3 separate regions of the Homo sapiens genome follow, and all the other regions are linked to region 2. Evidence: promoter capture Hi-C in 16 types of primary human blood cells and fetal thymus (Javierre and others, 2016). All regions are on one chromosome and are shown on one strand. Each heading gives the region's core, a stretch centred on a gene start or on the middle of the fragment in contact. The rest is flanking DNA. Distances are from core to core; before and after follow the strand shown.

Evidence for each region. The method cuts DNA at HindIII sites, captures the fragments that hold promoters and counts their contacts. A CHiCAGO score of 5 or more calls a contact.
Region 1: a contact is called between a fragment that was not itself captured here and the fragment with the promoter of JDP2 in region 2, in 8 of 17 cell types (monocytes, M1 macrophages, M0 macrophages and 5 more). The highest score is 13.1, in monocytes.
Region 3: a fragment that was not itself captured here is called in contact with the fragment with the promoter of JDP2 in region 2 in 2 of 17 cell types (monocytes and M1 macrophages); the score reaches 8.4 in monocytes.

What each region holds. Positions count from the first base shown.
Region 1 is chr14:75,311,493-75,314,980 of GRCh38, forward strand. No RefSeq gene overlaps it. Among named protein-coding and RNA genes, the nearest start is that of LINC01220, 19 kb to the left of the region's middle. The HindIII fragment of the contact is 780 bases long and covers 1,103-1,882 here.
Region 2 is chr14:75,426,490-75,429,973 of GRCh38, forward strand. It overlaps JDP2 (Jun dimerization protein 2), which reads left to right and starts at 1,533. Exons shown (of 4, transcript NM_001135048.2): 1 at 1,533-1,763. It overlaps JDP2-AS1 (JDP2 antisense RNA 1), which reads right to left and starts at 1,166. Exons shown (of 2, transcript NR_184172.1): 1 at 981-1,166; 2 at 1-222. RefSeq lists enhancers at 302-401, 652-981, 1,002-1,061, 1,029-1,586 and silencers at 1,252-1,521, 1,772-1,951, 2,012-2,181. The HindIII fragment of the contact is 6,934 bases long and covers 1-2,953 here.
Region 3 is chr14:75,348,373-75,352,017 of GRCh38, forward strand. No RefSeq gene overlaps it. Among named protein-coding and RNA genes, the nearest start is that of LINC01220, 56 kb to the left of the region's middle. The HindIII fragment of the contact is 893 bases long and covers 1,780-2,672 here.

The sequences.
Region 1 (3,488 bases), core at 243-2,742, 120 kb before region 2:
TGAATGGTGTTCAGGTCCCTGAAGGTGGGCCGCTTTAGGATATAGACACTCTTTCTGGCCAACGGGCAATATGAGCCAAAACAAATGCAGTGGAAGAAAGAATCTTGGCATCTTCCTCCAGAAATCTTGCTGCAAAAGTGTCTATCACACAGAAGGAAAAATAGCTTATGATTCTACTCATGTGAGCTTCCTAGAGTAGTCAAATTCAAACAGACAGAAAGTAGAGGGGTGATTGCCAGAGGCCGAGGGGAGGGGAAAATGGGGAGTGAGTATTTAATGAGTATGAAGTTTCAATTTGGGAAGATGAAACATTCTGGAGATGATGGTGATGAGAGTTGCACAACAATGCGAATGTACTTAATGCCACTCAACTGTAGACTTTAAAAGTTTCAAACAGTAAACTTTGTTATGTATATTTTACCATAATAAAAATAAATGTGTCTGTCAGTAAAGACTGTCTTCTTGCTGCAGCAGGAAATGGTGTTGGCTTGAAGGCCAGCATCGAGGGCACGTGGGTTCACCTCTTTGAACCTCAGCTGTATCATCCATCAAATGGAACTTACACTATCTTCCTTACTGCCAACTGTGAAGAGTGGATATGAATGCATTTAGTGAACAGAAATGCACCATAAGAATGTAATTTTTTTTTTTTAATTTGAGATGGGGCCTCCCAAAATGTTGGGATTATAGGCATGAGCCACTGAGCCTGGCCAAGAATATAAAATGTGATTAAAGTATTATTTCAAAATTCATTGTTATGGTACCCAAATGCCAAGAGGCAAAAGGAAAGGAGAAAGGGAGAGTTTTGGAGGAAACTAAGGAAAGGGTTATTTATATCTGGCATTTCTAGGAATTGGAAAATACCCAAATACCGTAGGAGAGTTGGAGAGAATTTTGGGCTCGTGCTCAGGGGCCTGAAGGTAAGACCAACTTGGACTATCATGGCAATTTAAAATACTTCTCCCTTTTGCTCTGCCTAAATTGAGAAACAGGTTAAGCCCACCCATCAAGAGGAAATGAAACAAAATGAAATAATGTCAAAACATCACCTCTCAAATTTCATGAAGGGAAATGGTACAGTTACAACACAATGCTGGGTGGAAGCTTATGGGACCTGGAGCCTCCAGGCATGGGTAGAACCCAGGTTCATCACCAGAGAGTCCCATTAACTGTCAATGATTTATTCAATGCATTTCTTTTTTCTATTTAAAGAAATAAGCCATTGGCCGGGTGCAGTGGCTCACGCCTGTAATCCCAGCACCTTGGGAGGCTGAGGCAAGCAGGTCACTTGAGGCCAGGAGTTCGAGACCAGCCTGGCCAACACGGTGAAACCCTGTCTCTACTGAAAATACAAAAATTAGCTGGGTGTGGTGGTGGATGCCTGTAATCCCAGCTACTCGGGTGGCTGAGGCAGGAGAATCACTTGAACCTGGGAGGCGGAGGTTGCAGTGAGCTGAGATCACACCACTGCACTCCAGCCTGGGCAACAGAGTGAGACTCCGACTCAAATAAAATAAAATAAAGAAATAAGCCATTCATCACTACCATCACTTTTATCATTACAAAATGTTTTATTAGCATATATTAGCATGTGGCAAGCACCAATTTAAATGTGGTACACACCTTATCTTTTCATTCCTTGCAAGGTGCAGCTTTTTTATAGATAACAATATGAGACTCACGATTACTGATTTGGTCTTTCTGGTTCTTTGTTTCCTGATTGATAAAATGAGAATAATGTTATAGCTAGAGAAGTTTAGCAGCTTGCCTCAAGTCACAAAGCTGGTAAGTAGTAATGTCAGGATTTCAACCCAAGTTCATCTGACTCCAAAGTTCCACCTTTGAATGCTATACTGCATTGGAGGAAACATTATTGCTAAGAAGCTTATGAAAGAAAATTGCTAATGAATATTATGCTCTGAGAGCAATTAGAATGTGCAATTGGTAAATCGCCTTATCATGGCATTGCATGATGTCACAATGACATGCAATGGGGAAGAACAATGAGCATCATGGGTGTGTATTAGCAGAGATTTGGCTTTAAAATGGAATGAAACCACAAAGTACACAAAGAACAGAGTATGAGGCTGGGCGCAGTGGCTCATGCCTGTAATCCCAGCATTTTGGGAGGCGGAGGCAGGTGGATCACTTGAGGTCGGGAGTTCAAGACCAGCCTGGCCAACATGGTGAAACCCCGTTTCTACTTAATATACAAAAATTAGCCGGGCATGGTGGTGCACACCTGTAGTCCCAGCTCTTCAGGAGGCTGAGGCAGGAGAATCGCTTGAACTCAGGAGGTGGAGGTAGAGGTTGCAGTGAGCCGAGATCACGCCACTGCACTCTAGCCTGAGCGACAGCACGAGACTCCTTCTCAAAAAAAAAGAAAAAAAGGACAACTTATGAAACAAGGCTTTGCTGCTTTATGTATGTGTACTGTGTATGTTTTGTTGAGTACGTGCTGTATGCTGCACGTGTTGCATGTGTATGTGTGTAACGTGGGTGTTGTGTGTGTGTGGTTGCATAAGTGAAGGAGAGTTGCATGATGAGTGATTTCTTCAATACTGAAGGCCGTACAGTCCCACAGCCAACACATAGTGCTTCCTGTGAGCCAGGCATTCCACCCAGTGTTTTACATATAATCCCTCACTCATCTTCACAACAACTTTGTGCGGTAGCTAGTAACAGTATTCTCATTTAGTGGACGAGGAAATGGAGGCTCAGAAGGATCAAGCATCTTGCCCTAGATCACCTAGATGGTACAAGGGAGAGCTGGGATTTGAACCCAGGCAGACTGGCTTCAAATTCTGTGTTTTGGTCTTTTCTTCATTTGTGTCCCTCTCGCCTTGTGAGAAATGATAGAATTATTCTCATTACATGATGGGAGAACCTGGGAACAATGTGAACATGTGTTGGCTCAGACAACAGTCTCAACTACACACTGGGGAAACGTGGGGAGGCAAACTCGTTTCACTGATTTGTCTCCTCTAAAACTTCTCCCTTTGCTGAATCCCACTTTTTTTCCCCTCTCTTTCTACAGGTGTTGATCCCAACTGTACAACCTGAATGCTGTTCTCAGAGTCACTTCCTGGTAACCCAAACTATGACCCAATAAATATTAGCTACTATCATCATCATCAATAATAATAATTATCATCATCCAAAAGCATTCTAAATAATAGAGAAAATAAGAGAAAGGGGGCAAAGGGGAGAGGTTTCCCTACTAACCAGGAGGGGTGATGATGTAGGGCAATACAGAAAGTCTAGAACAAGAACATGTCTCTGTTTTTTTTTGAGACAGGATCTCGCTTTGTCTCCCAGGCTGGAATGCAGTGGCACAGTCATGGCTCACTGCAGCCTCGACCACCTGGGCTTAAGTGATCCTCCTGCTTCAGCCTCCTGAGTAGCTAGGACTACAGGCATGCACCACCACACCTGAATAATTTTTTTAAAAAAATTTTTAGTAGAGACGAGGTCTCCTTATGTTGCAC
Region 2 (3,484 bases), core at 283-2,782:
TTCTGGGGCGAAGAGTCATGCTCTTCCACAAGAGTATCAAATTACTGCTCATTTTCCAATGTATATTCTTTCAGGGCCTTGCTTTCTTCTTACCTGCCCACACCAATGCTGTGAGGGAGACTGCTGATGGCGAAGGTGAAAATGGTCAGGCAATGTCATTGGGACTTGGTCTGTCTCTCCTTCCATTAGCCCACTTCTTTTATCCAGAAAGATTTCACTGCACTGGGGAAATAAGGAGAATAAAGTCTCATGCACTCACTCACATGAGAGAGACATGCATGTTCGGGTTTGCTCAATGGCACCCATCTGTCTCAAGTCTTGTTGTTTCTTTCACTCTGAGCATCTGCACTCCAAGAAGGCATGAACTTTTTCTTTCACTTCCTTTCTTCTATGGGTGATGACCTGACATCACTCTCAGAAGGAGGCCGAAAGTCGCTGAGTATAAAAATCGTCACTCCTATCTGGCTTAGGCAGAAGGTAGGGGGCTCGATGGGTACCCAGGAGCTCTGGAGGTAGGAGATGCCATCTAGGGAACCCCGTTCTACCTGAGGGCTCTGTGTCTCTGCCTTTGTATACTGGAGGGCACCATGGATGTCGCCTTCCCTCTGGAGTCCCCTTCACCATTTCCTCTCTAGAAGGATGGAAGGTGGGAGTGGGGTTGGCTATTGAAGCTGGAACGGGGAAGAAGGCCACTTGGGGTCTGCTGAGGGCTGGGTCTGCTCACTGCTGTGTCCGGAGTGGAAAGGAGAAGCCCGCTGGAGCAGGGTACAAGCCCAAGGGTCAAACTGCGCCAGCAGTAGAGCAAGCCGCGGTCTCAGGCTGCAGCCCTAGCAGAGGTCAGGCTGGTGCAGCCAGCCGTCTCGGGGCCTAAGGGCGCTGGCGGGGGCCGGTGGGTAGGGGTAGGAGTCCCCAAATGCCTTCATCTCAGCCCATCCTTCTCCACCGAAAAATAAAGCAGGCTGGCGAGATCGCCTCCTCACCCGCTCAGTCCTGAAGTGTCCAAGGATGAAACTGTGCGGAAATTCTCCCTGTCGCTCTCAGTTTGTGGGGGAAGCGCCGGGACTGAGGTACATGGTTAACACAGGCTGTGCGTGAAGGGGCTTTTGACTTTTCCCCCGGCTCCGGCCTCTCGCGTCTCTCTCCTAGGGCTGCGGCTGCTGCTGCCTGGCGGGCACAAGCCGGGCGGCGGTGCGCGGGGGGTGCGCTTACATAACCGCTCGCCGCGTCCTGCTTTCTCGAGCGCTCCTGCACCGTGGGGTGGCGGAGCCGGGGGACTGCATGGAACCCGGGACGCCCCCGCGGGGAGAGGAGCGCGAGCGGCCGCGGGAGGAGGGCGCCCAAGGCGGCGGGGGAGGTTAAGGTCAGTGGGTGTGAAGCGCCGGCTCCACACCCCCTCCTCCCCGGTCCCCTCCTTCCCTTCCTCTCCGTCCCCCTCTGACGTCTGGAGCTGGCAGCTCGGCCGGTTCCGCATTCCCGACCCCTCCCCGCCGCCCAGGGGCCGCTATATAGCCGGGGCTGATGCAACCCGTCCCGCCGCCCGCCACAGCCTGCGGGAGGGACGCTCGGCGGCCGCGACGGGGGGCGCTGGCGGCGGCGGACGCTGCAGCGGCGGCGGGGCTGGCGCCGCGGCGGCTCCCGGGCCGGGACAGGCCTGGGCACCGGGCGGAGCTCCGCGGCCGGGCGGCAGCGGCGCGGAGCGGGCACGGCGCCTGCAGCCGGGCCCCGGCCCCGGGGGCGCCGCCTCCCCCCGCACCTTCTGCACGGTGGGTGCGAGGGCGCGCGCTGGGGGCGCCGGGACGGGCGGGGCGGGGCAGGGCGCGGCGCGGGCACCTGGGACGGCCGCCCCCGCACGGGCGGAGCGCGAGGAGCCCCAGCCCAGCCCCGCGGGGAGGCTCCCGCAGCCCAGGGACCTCGAGCTTTCCCCGCGCCGGGCGCTGCAGCCGGGCCCCTCCCGCGAGGCGCCCGGCAGCCTGAGGCTTCCTTTTGGTTCCCGCCCCGGGACGGGAGGCTCCGTCCGCTCCCTGGACAGCCGGGGTGCTCCCTCCTTCTCCCTCCCGCGCTCTCCTCCCCCGTCCGTTTGCAGGGAGGTGCTCTCCTCGGGCGGCGGGGAAGGCGGGGTGAGTGGGGAGAAAAGTGCCCGCGGAGATGGGCTGTGCGGGTGGAGGTGGAGGGTGAAGGGCCAGGGAGGTGCGGGGTTGGGGTCGGGGTTAGATTGTGGAGGGATGACAAGGACCTCCTGGCAGTGAGGAAGCGCGACTCCCGGAGGACCCGGACCCGGAGGAGAGTATTGAGAAGGGCTCGGGATTTCCATCCAATGAAGGCAGCTTCTCTCATGGCCATTGCTTCGGAGCTCTGGGCTGGGAGGGGATCTAGGGGTGGCCGGGGTCCCCTTTGGGCTCTCCTGTCTCCCACGCCAGGTTATATAAGGAGGCAAGCAGGCTCCTGTAGGTAACCAGCCTCTCCCTTGCCCAGCCCAGCTTAGAAGGCTCTCCTCTGCTCCTCCCTTCAAAGGAGGTTGTCGAGGGGTAGGGGTGCAGTGGGGGGTGGGAGAGTGTAGGGGTGGATTGGGCCTTCCACCTGGATCCCTGGACCCTGGGATGGCAGAGCCAGGCTTTGCCTGGGTCAGTAGGAGGAGCAGGGAAGATGAGGAGGCTGGGGAAGATGGGGAGGTCCTGGCTCTTTTGCAGGGATGGAGAGGCTGGTGGAAGGAGAAATCAGCCGACCCCCTTGGGTCATCTCCAGTTGCAAGATGGCGTGGCCCTTGCCCAGGGTGCTGCCCTCCCTGTTGGAATCCAGGGCATGGGGCTATGGCCCGACCACGTGTGCTCAGGGCAAATGTGCTCAGGTCTATATCTCAGAAAGGGCTTGCAGCCTGCTTAGGCGTGTGTACCCAGGCTTAAATCTTGGTGGTCTCTCCCTAGGGTCTTAATTGGAGGAGCATCAGGAATTGGGAAGCTTTGAACCATGTTTGGGTACATTTGTACCCAAACGTCCTTTAAGCCCTTGGTAGAAACTGCATTCGCGTATCATCTCCCTTCCCCCCAACCTTCCTTCCCTGAGGGTTTTAAAAAACACTTCCCATTGCTTTTACCTTTCCAGCAAATCTGGCTGCAGCTTGGATGGATAGCTTATCTTCCTTTGCAGGTTTCTAGGGGAGAGTTTAACCAGGTATCAGGTGTGAGCATGGCTCTGATTTTGTATAAACCTGAGGATCGAGGAAGAGAAGCAAAATCTATTCTCACACCTCTGGGTGGTTAAGGTTTTGCCTTGTTTAGAGCAGGGAGGATGGATTTCTCAAAGACTCTTCTGTTCCCTTCTACTTTGGCTTTGGTTCAGAGCTGCAGGCAGCTCCAGAATCTTCCTGAAGAGCTGGGTGCTGTGTGATTTGAAGGGCTGCAGGAAGTCATGGGTGTGTAGACCTCTGGCTTTTCTCCTAGGTGGGCTGCAGGAAGTCATGGGTGTGTAGACCTCTGGCTTTTCTCCT
Region 3 (3,645 bases), core at 976-3,475, 77 kb before region 2:
CAATCAAAAACTCCTGATGGATTTCTACTCTGAAGAGCATCTGGGGCATGTTTGATGTTGTACAGACAGCAGACCCTACCCACTACTTCATTCATGGTGCCTGGTTGGAGACTGAGGAAGCCAGGCACCACCATCATAAATCCTCAGACCTCATCACGAAATACCTGATGGTTCTGGAGATAAGTACCTGCTGCCTGGGCCTCTTGGTAGGCCTTGCTGCCCTGGGGCTGGTATGGGGCTGGAGCGGATCCACAGCCAGACACTTTATGAGGCAACCAGAAGAGAGGTTAGAAACATGGAGATGCCAGCCTTCCCCACATGTCAGTCTGGGAGAAGCATGGCGGAGGATAATCCCAGGAGTTAACTGGCAAAGGAACAAAGGAAGAGGCATGATCACTTGTACTGGGAGTCAAGACCATGCCCTGGGTGATACCCCCTATTCCCCAATAACAAGCAATTAACATTTGTGTGAGGTTCCTATTTTTTAGGCACCTTCCTGTATGTTTGACAAAAAAAGGGTTTTTTTGTTTGTTTGTTTGTTTGTTTGTTTGTTTGAGATGGAGTCCTGCTCTGTCACCAGGCTGGAGTGTAGTGGTGCTTTCTCGGCTCACTGCAATCTCCATCTCCTGGGTTCAAGTGATTCTCCTGTCTCAGCCTCCTGAGTAGCTGGGACTACAGGCACTTGCCACCATGCCCGGCTAATTTTTGTATTTTTAGTAGAGACAGGGTTTTACCATATTGGCCAGGCAGGTCTTGAATTCCTGACCTCAAGTGATCTGCCCGCCTCGGCCTCCCAAAGTGCTGGGATTACAGGCGTAAGCAACCGCACCCAGCCAAGAAAAGGATTTTAAATGGCGAAATAATAATATAGTAAATGTTTTCCTTAGGTTTGAATGAGGTTATACAAGATGGGGTCTTCTTGAGGGCAGGGACCACTTTTTTACTTGCCTTTGCCTCTCTGGTGTATAGCATAACAACTGGGGGATGATTAAGTGCTCAGTAACTGTTTATTGGATGAACGAAGACTAGCAATTGTGTGAGAACCAATGTCATTAAGTTGATACTTAGGGGCAGGTTGAGCAGCTGTGGTTGGGCTGCTTGGTTGAGACAAGGTTGAAATTCTTCAAGATATGGGGCTTATTGAGGGGTTAGGTTGCAGACCAAGCACTCCAGGCTGAGAGGTGATTGCTATGTGTTCACCAACCTCCATTTCCTTTTCCTTTTGGGCACATGGCTAGATTACATTTCCCAGCCTCTCTTGTAGTTTGCTGGGGCATGTGACTCAGTCCCGACCAGTGGGATGCAGGTGAAAGTGCCGTATACCACCTCTGGTCCTGGTTCCTAAAAGTGTCCCCTGTGATCCATCACTCTCTCTGGTCTTTCATCTGCTGGCTGTACACTGAGGATGTAGTGGGGGATTCCAAGTCTTAGGAGATAACAGAGCCACTAGGGAAAGGGCTTGGGTCCCTGAATGACTATATGGAGCAGAGTTCCTCACCTTTGATTTCTCATTGATCTGTGACAGAAGTAAGAAATTAACCTGTATTGTGTTAAGCCACTGAGATTTTTGGTTGTCACAGAGTGGTCATTAGCTACCCTACTACAGGACAACTCATTTTAATCTGGGGAGGGAGAGAGTGGTGCTAAGTATTGCTAGTTATGGCAGAGGCCTGGCTGCAATTTTCCTCCCCTAAACTGAAAACAAACAGATGTGCTCACAGACATAGAGAAGTTAGGAGAGAGAGAACCAATTGTCAGGGAGGACTTGGGACCCTTCTAAGCTTGAAGGTTTTAAGGTGACAGGGATATATCCAAGTGGACGTTCTGTGGGCCGGGCCTGAGATTTAGTTAGAATTTGTCCTCAGAGAAGTGGTCACTGAAGCCATAAGAGAAATGGCCTACTTGAGGAAGAGCTTATGAAGGGAAAATGGTGTGGCATCCAGGACTGAGTCCTGGTGACTTTCCAGAGTTAGAAGATGGCAGGAGGGGGAGGAGGAGCTGGTGAAGGTGCCATCTGAGCAGTAGGAGGAGATGCCTGTAGAGACACACCAGCCAAGGGTGGAGGAAGATTCCAGTAGTAGGTGGGGATCACATACAGAAGAGATTAGACCTTGGATATTGAAGAGACTCAGAAAGGACCTTCCTTCTCCAAGGACCGAGATGAATGGAGAGAAAAGGCCACATGTGAGGGTGGAAATATGGAGGAGATAAGAGGAGAAGCCAACCTTCTCTACAAAATGATAGAGCTGCTGGCTTGTGATTGGCAGGCAATTGTATCATTGTAGCTGGGTGATCTTGCTTTGCTATGGCTGCAAACTGAGCTCTCCAGGCATTGGTCTGAGTGATTTGCACCAGAGGGTGGGGAATAGGGGAGTTGCTTTGGTATTCTGGTGTCTGGAGCTTGAGATAGGGGAGAGAGAAGGGCAAAGGAGGGGTAGCATGAGATCCCTGTGAGCAGAAAGGGGCCAGGACTCAGCTGAACTTGGGCATAATTGCATGACTTAGCTAAATTTGGGTATAACAGCTAATGTGACTTCATCTTGTATGCAGAATCTGGTGAGGTTACACAAGTTAAACTCCACAGTTCCTTTGGTCATATGGGTATATAACACAGGCAGGCTGTTCTACCAGAGAACCCCCCAGTGTGGGTTTGGGCATACTTAATTTTACTAAGCTTTACTTTCTTTATCTGTAAAATGGGCCTTAAATAATTCCTACCTCAAAGGGCAATTGGTAGTATTAAATTCAGTAACATTCAATAGTGCATATAAAACACCTGATGCAGAGTAAAAGACTCAGTGAAAGTAGCTCAGTCTTATTTTATAGCTTGACTTTAGGAGCTCTGACATTTTGCATAGAACTTTGCCTTGTACAAAAAGCTTTCACATATGTTATATCAAATAATCCTTTGGCTCTGAGCTTTCATCCTTTTTTAAAATTCACACAGTAATGGGGGCATGCTGATTTAAAAAATGAAGAAATTCATAGTGGCTCCAAGTAACTTCTTCTAAGATCCAATTCAGTAGGAAAGAGAGCATCTGTTTCCCCACAGACCAAAGTTTAGGCCTGGCTGTCATTGGTTCAGATGGACGGTGTTTCTATCCTCCAACCAGTTGCTGTGGTGAGGAGAATGGAGTGCGTTGATTGGTTGAGTCCTAGGTTTGTGCTCTACTCTGAGGCCAGGAGAGGCCTCCATCTGAAGCTTTGGGAATGGGAGTGGGGTACCATGTTCTGTAGGGGAAATCAGGGCATCATTCCTGAAGATAGCATGAATGGAAGCTGGGTAGCAACAACAGCAGATATTCCTGAGTGTCAATGCTTGTCCAGAAGGGTGGGGTCTCCATCAGGTTCTCCAATCATATGCTTTCCTATTCCTCTAGTACAGAAATGTACCATGAACAGTCTTTGGTTCTCAGCTTTGGGTAAGGGCTGGAAAATCTCACAGCTGCAGCTGCCTTGACATCAGAGAGCGTAAAAGGACAAGGGCCTAGTATACAGAGGGATAAAGGATGTGACCTGGGGTCTGTCACAAACATTTTTAAGGCAGTTATGTGTGCCAGGCTCTGTGTTAAGTGCTTTCCTGGATGAGCCCGTTTTATTATCCTATGGCCAATGCCAAGGTAGGCATTGGCACTAATTTCCACA